Linked DNA regions of Homo sapiens: region 1 is linked to region 2. Evidence: promoter capture Hi-C in 16 types of primary human blood cells and fetal thymus (Javierre and others, 2016). All regions are on one chromosome and are shown on one strand. Each heading gives the region's core, a stretch centred on a gene start or on the middle of the fragment in contact. The rest is flanking DNA. Distances are from core to core; before and after follow the strand shown.

Region 1 (2,700 bases), core at 131-2,630, 1.0 Mb after region 2:
AGAAAGTACAGTGGAGTTAAGTGACTGAATTGCTTCAAGGTGAAGACTGGAGAGTTTACAAAAGATTAAAGATTTATAACCAATTTAAAAAGCAGATTTCAAAACCATCAACAAAAGGAACACAACATAAAAATAAGATGCCTAGAAGGATTACGTAGGGTCAGGCAGTAGTAATTAATGGGCTTACTTTGGTATAATCCAAAGAGGAAAGATGCTATACTTTCCATGATAACACTAAGCTTTTTGTGAAACAGCAGTAGAAATTTACTATAAATATGGATAAAAGGATTGGGAAATCATGCTTAACCAGCGGCAGAGCTCCACTTGCTAGGAAGAAAGCATTATTCTAAATGACATTTTATGCTACCTTGCTTGTTTCACTGTCTTTGAATCCTTTTTCAAGTATTTGTAGAAGATGCTTTTTCTTCACTGAAACTTCAGGATCAAAAACATAAAAAAGGCATTCCAGCATCCTTCGGTAGCTCCTTAAGAATAATTGAAACAGAAAAAGTTTGAGGATTGATTTCACAAAAGCTTAGCCATAGATAAGATAACCATATGTCCTGCCAGGGATATTTGTCATTGACATGCAATGTTCTAGTGTCATTATTAATAGCTCCCCTGCCTTCAACCTCAAAAACAGGCTCAATGTGGATAAATTATGAGGTCATCCTGGCCATGGGAGATGCATAAAAAGGAAACATTTACTAACAAGGTATATGTATATTTTTAATGCTGTAAACTTTTAAAATAGAAATTTTACAAATACAGTCACACTTTTGTAAAGTTGTTCCATAAAGAATTCAGCTTCTTACTCTGAATCATGCATATCTTCATTCTCCAAAAACTTTTGAAATTTCTCTTCGAATTTTAGTCTCAGAATACGGTTGTTAACTTTAATGATGCGTTTTACTTTTACTCCTGTAATACCGTATGTTCTGAAGTCCCAGGCACAAAAACGTGACAGAATTAATTCATAGCAGAAATTAAACCTATGTGGGAATACATACAGAATATACATGAAGAAAATAATAGATTTTCCTTAAAATGTTTAAGAACAGAAAACTACGTGATAAAAGTTATAGCTCATATTTTGTGTCTTTTGCTAAAGATACAGTAATCATATAGTGGCTCCGTTTATTTATTCATTTATTGCACATTTGTTCTGCCTGGAAGACAGGTTGGTTGAGCAATCTTCACTTTCTGAAACACTTTCTTAGCTTCAGGGAAACTTCATACGCCTTCCTCTTATTGGCTGCTCTTTCATAGTTTTCTTGCTGGGTCTTCTCAGACAGACTTTTAGATGTTGAACTGCCCAGGGATCAGCCTTTGGCCTTCCTCTTGCTTCCACGAACACTCTCCCTAGATGATTTCACGTGGTTCCTTGGCTTTATATACATCCTGATAAATTACAACATTTTATTTCTAGTCTTGATCTCTACTCAACTTAGCTGGTTATACCCAGACTTGAATATCCAACTACCTACTTGGTATGTCCATCTGCATGTTAAACAGGTGACTCCAACCTAACATAACTAACACTGCACCCCAAACCTGCTCCTCTGAGTATTTTCCATCTCAGTATATGGCACCACCATTTAACTGATAGCTTAAGTCAAAACCGTAGGAATAATCCTCTCCTTTCTTCCTCACCAGTATCTTTTTTTTTTTTTTTTTTTTTTTTTTTTTTTTTTTTTTGAGGCGGAGTCTCGCTCTGTCGCCCAGGCTAGAGTGCAGGGGCGCCATCTCCACTCACTGCAATCTCCGCCTCCCGGGTTCACGCCATTCTCCTGCCTCAGCTTCCCGAGTAGCTGGGACTACAGGCGCCCGCCATCACGCCCGGCTAATTTTTTGTGTTTTTAATACAGACGGGGTTTCACCGTGTTAGCCAGGATGGTCTCAATCTCCTGACCTCGTGATCCGCCCACCTCGGCCTCCCAGTGCTGGGATTACAGGCGTGAGCCACCGCGCCCGGCCCCAGTATCTAATTCTTTAGCAAGTCCGCCTGGCTCTACATCTAAAATCCATCCTGAATGTGATCGTGTTTCATCATCACCACTGTTACCATCCTAATCCAAATCACCACGATCTCTCATTGGACTACTGAAATAACTTCCTGACAATGAATACGGATGTGAAAGAGGCATTGTCTGCTCTAATGAAGCCTAAACAAGTAAAGCCAGAAATAAAATTTCTAAACTGAAAAAGGCTCTGAAGAGAAGCTTGGGGTAAGGAATGCAAAGGGGACCTACTTAAGATAGGGCCTTGGGGACGACCTTTCAGAGACGTTAAGATATTTGATCTGAAAATTGGAGGAGGAGGAGCAGGGGCCAGCTGTGTGAAAATAACACTGAAGTGCTTGTTTGCTCTCTGCTGCCCTCACCTGGCCATACGCATAAAATTCCGGTCCTGTCTAGCACAGAACCTAGATTAAGATGAGATTGAAAAACGGATCATTTTGAGAAGGAAGTAAATGGTCTTATAAGGAATACATTTGCCTTTAATGAAAGATCTAGGTCCTCACCTACATAATCAACCAGGGTCTGAAATGGGTGTGAGCTAAGGTCACAGAGGTGAGCTTCCTGATGGGTAGTCTCTCCTTGAGCCTAATAGCTGAGCTCCTAACTTAGGGCATCTATATTTCTCACAAGCAAATACTTAATCAATGCAGCCAGGATCTTATAAATTACTTCTCCCTTA
Region 2 (2,829 bases), core at 290-2,789:
TTAGCCAAAACATAAGCTAAGCCAAGGATGCCACTTCCCATGATGGCATTCATCAAATTAAACACTGATAAACCAAATGAAACACCTGGGGATCGCTGTCTGTGAAGTTCCTGTAAGCACACAAATTTAGTAGTGTTAAATGTTTGGACGGTGAAGTTAAAATTTCGTAAAGAAATTCCATAAATGAAAGATTATGGAAAAAAGCTGCAAACCACCAGGGTTTGTATGACACACTCGTTGCTTAACCAACACTAATTTCCTTTCCTTTCCTTCCCACCTCCCACTACTGCAGCTCCAGGAATCTAGGGTTTCTTAGGAAAATGATTTCCACCAGTACACAAGACAGGCAGAGTTCAGGAAGGGCCATGACTAACCTTGTGACTGCAAGAGATGAAGATAGGATGGGAATGGAGTGGGGAGAGAGAGGAGGGATAAGGCCTCAGCTCATGTGATTACTAAAGAATTGCTGAGTCAACCTGGGACTGCTGTGGGCAGTTGTTTCTCCTCAATTACTAGGACTGCACAACTAATCTCTACTTATATATCTAATGAATTAGTTCTACCAAACTGGAAGGATGGTCAGGAATATCTTGCAATGACAATATTATAAACAGAAGCAATTCACGTTGTTCTGGCAGTATCCCTGAAAACATCCCCCTCCCCACAAACAGCACCGGGAACAAAGTCCTGGGAACAGTGTCTAGGACTCGAGTTAAAAAGCGGAGTGCCCACTGCACAGGCTTTAGGGTCAGGAACGTGCTATGCACTTACTACCAAGCCACTTCCATTCTACCGCTAAGAATTTCTGTATTAAAATGTTTATTATTTTCCCTCCCCCCATGACTAAGTCGGAAGAGGAAAATCCTGTGACTCTTGCAAAGACCTCACGAGACTGGTGGAGAAAATAAGGTGACAAAAATACTAACTAACAGCAGTGAGTACATAATCCTAGGGCCGCTCATCCCATCATGTTCGCAGCTTCCACTCAACGCTGCATCTCTTCCACCCGACGCTTTTCATCTTTTCTTTCTAGAGTATGCTAGGCTGCTATCACGTTCATAACTGCGCCAATCTCATCTGAATCTCGGCGGCTGCCTTCAGACCCCATCCCCCAGGGTTCAGGCTCCAGCATCTCCCCTGTCCCGGTGCGGTCCTCCTTTTCTGGGTCTTATTTGGCAGGCACTTGAGGGAAGCCGGAGGGCGTCAGCGCGGGGAAGCGAACACAGCCCACTTACGTTGCTTAGCAACGGACTCAACTCTTCGGCCTCCGCTTCTTCAGGCTGCTGGACAGAGACATACCAGCCCCGCTCAGCGTTGAAGCTCCCCCAGGACGCCTCCATGCTGCTCTCCAGCTGACTACCAGTTCCATCTACGAGCCTCTACCCCTGCCCTGCGCTCCAGTCGTCGGTCGCGCCAGAGGCGGAGCTTTGAGCCCGGCCCTTCCGGCATTCCGTACTTCACCAGGGCCTGGAAGGAGAGGAGCGAGTCGACTTGATCTGATGACGCGCGCCCTCTTCGCGGCGAACAGTGATGATGTCATAGAAGACCCGCCCATCCACCCGCGACCCACATCCGATCGGTACCGGAGCGGGAGGTGAGGGGTCGGCTCGCGGATCCAGCTGCAGAGCGACGTGGGGAATTGGAATGGTGCTTTGGTGAGGTGGCGGCCGCGTTAGGGGCTAATGGTCCAGGGGAGGTACCAGCCCGCCCAGGGCTGCTCTCTGCCATGTGCTGCCTGGGCACAGAAACATCGCGAGGTCACCCACCCGCCTAGGTGCTGAGCTTAGTTTCGAGGTTCTGGATAGTAAGGAATGTTTCAAAAGCCTTTCGCCACATTTTACTGGTGGGAAAACCGAGACTTATAGTAATTTATCCAGGGTCACCCAGCTGGTCAGCTGCTAGAACCAATTTGATCTCTGACGGTGAAGTTAGACTTCGTTGCTTTACAGGATTCTGGGACAGGGCCCTTTCCCCTTACAAGTAAATTCTTTGGTATTTTAGAAGACAGTGAATAACTGATACTATGCATATAACAATCAGCAAAGCTCTCGTCCTCAAAATACAGAAGCCTCTAGTTAAAGGCAGGACATGTGGCAGTAAAGCATCGAAAACAAACAACAGAGCAATATATTAAGAACACAAGCACCGAAGTCAGTCAAAACTAGGTTTTAATCCATGTTTAGCCACTTATCAGCTGGGAGACTTTGGGTGGGTTACCTTACGTCTGAGCTTTAGTTTACTTATTTACAAAATGAGGGTGCAATACTGCACACCTCCCAAGATTCATAATGTACATAAAGCATTTAGCGCAGTATCTGACACAATAAGCACCCATGAGACTATCCTAATAAATATCACCACTAGTAATGGTCATGTATAATGACTATTTCATTTACAGATGACCATTTAACTCATACTTCAGTCTTCCAATCCCAAATGTATTATCTAGAAAATTGTGGGTGAAGAGGATCATTGAGTATGGCTAATGGATCACTAAGCCCTCTGAACTGGGAGCAGATGGGTTGAAGGTGTAAATTTAATATATACCACTATTATCTACCACTAATACGACTTCCTGAAGAAGTCATCCTAGTCTGGAAAAGATAGTATACTTCCCACACATCACTAAACGTTTTATTTGTCAGCATTTAGCCCGTTATTTGAGATAGTAGAATTTAGATTTTTATTCTCAAAAGCTGTCGTGTGTGAATTTTTTTTTTTTTTTTTTAAGGATCTTATGGAGGCCATTTGGATTCTCAGGAAGATTTCTGAAACTGGAAAGCCATAGCATAACTGAATCAAAATCGTTGATTCCAGTAGCTTGGACAT

What was found. The method cuts DNA at HindIII sites, captures the fragments that hold promoters and counts their contacts. A CHiCAGO score of 5 or more calls a contact.
Region 1: a fragment that was not itself captured here is called in contact with the fragment with the promoter of TRMT5 in region 2 in 1 of 17 cell types (total CD8 T cells); the score reaches 5.5 in total CD8 T cells.

Annotation. Positions count from the first base shown.
Region 1 is chr14:59,964,881-59,967,580 of GRCh38, reverse strand. LRRC9 (leucine rich repeat containing 9) reads right to left here. Exons shown (of 33, transcript NM_001395648.1): 11 at 816-992; 12 at 368-485. Among named protein-coding and RNA genes, the nearest start is that of LRRC9, 46 kb to the right of the region's middle. RefSeq lists an enhancer at 2,235-2,294. The HindIII fragment of the contact is 1,688 bases long and covers 537-2,224 here.
Region 2 is chr14:60,979,789-60,982,617 of GRCh38, reverse strand. It overlaps TRMT5 (tRNA methyltransferase 5), which reads left to right and starts at 1,539. Exons shown (of 5, transcript NM_020810.3): 1 at 1,539-1,655; 2 at 2,732-2,829. The coding sequence starts at 1,645. It overlaps SLC38A6 (solute carrier family 38 member 6), which reads right to left and starts at 1,373. Exons shown (of 16, transcript NM_153811.3): 1 at 1,236-1,373; 2 at 1-110. The coding sequence starts at 1,340. RefSeq lists an enhancer at 1,270-1,649. The HindIII fragment of the contact is 5,504 bases long and covers 1-2,829 here.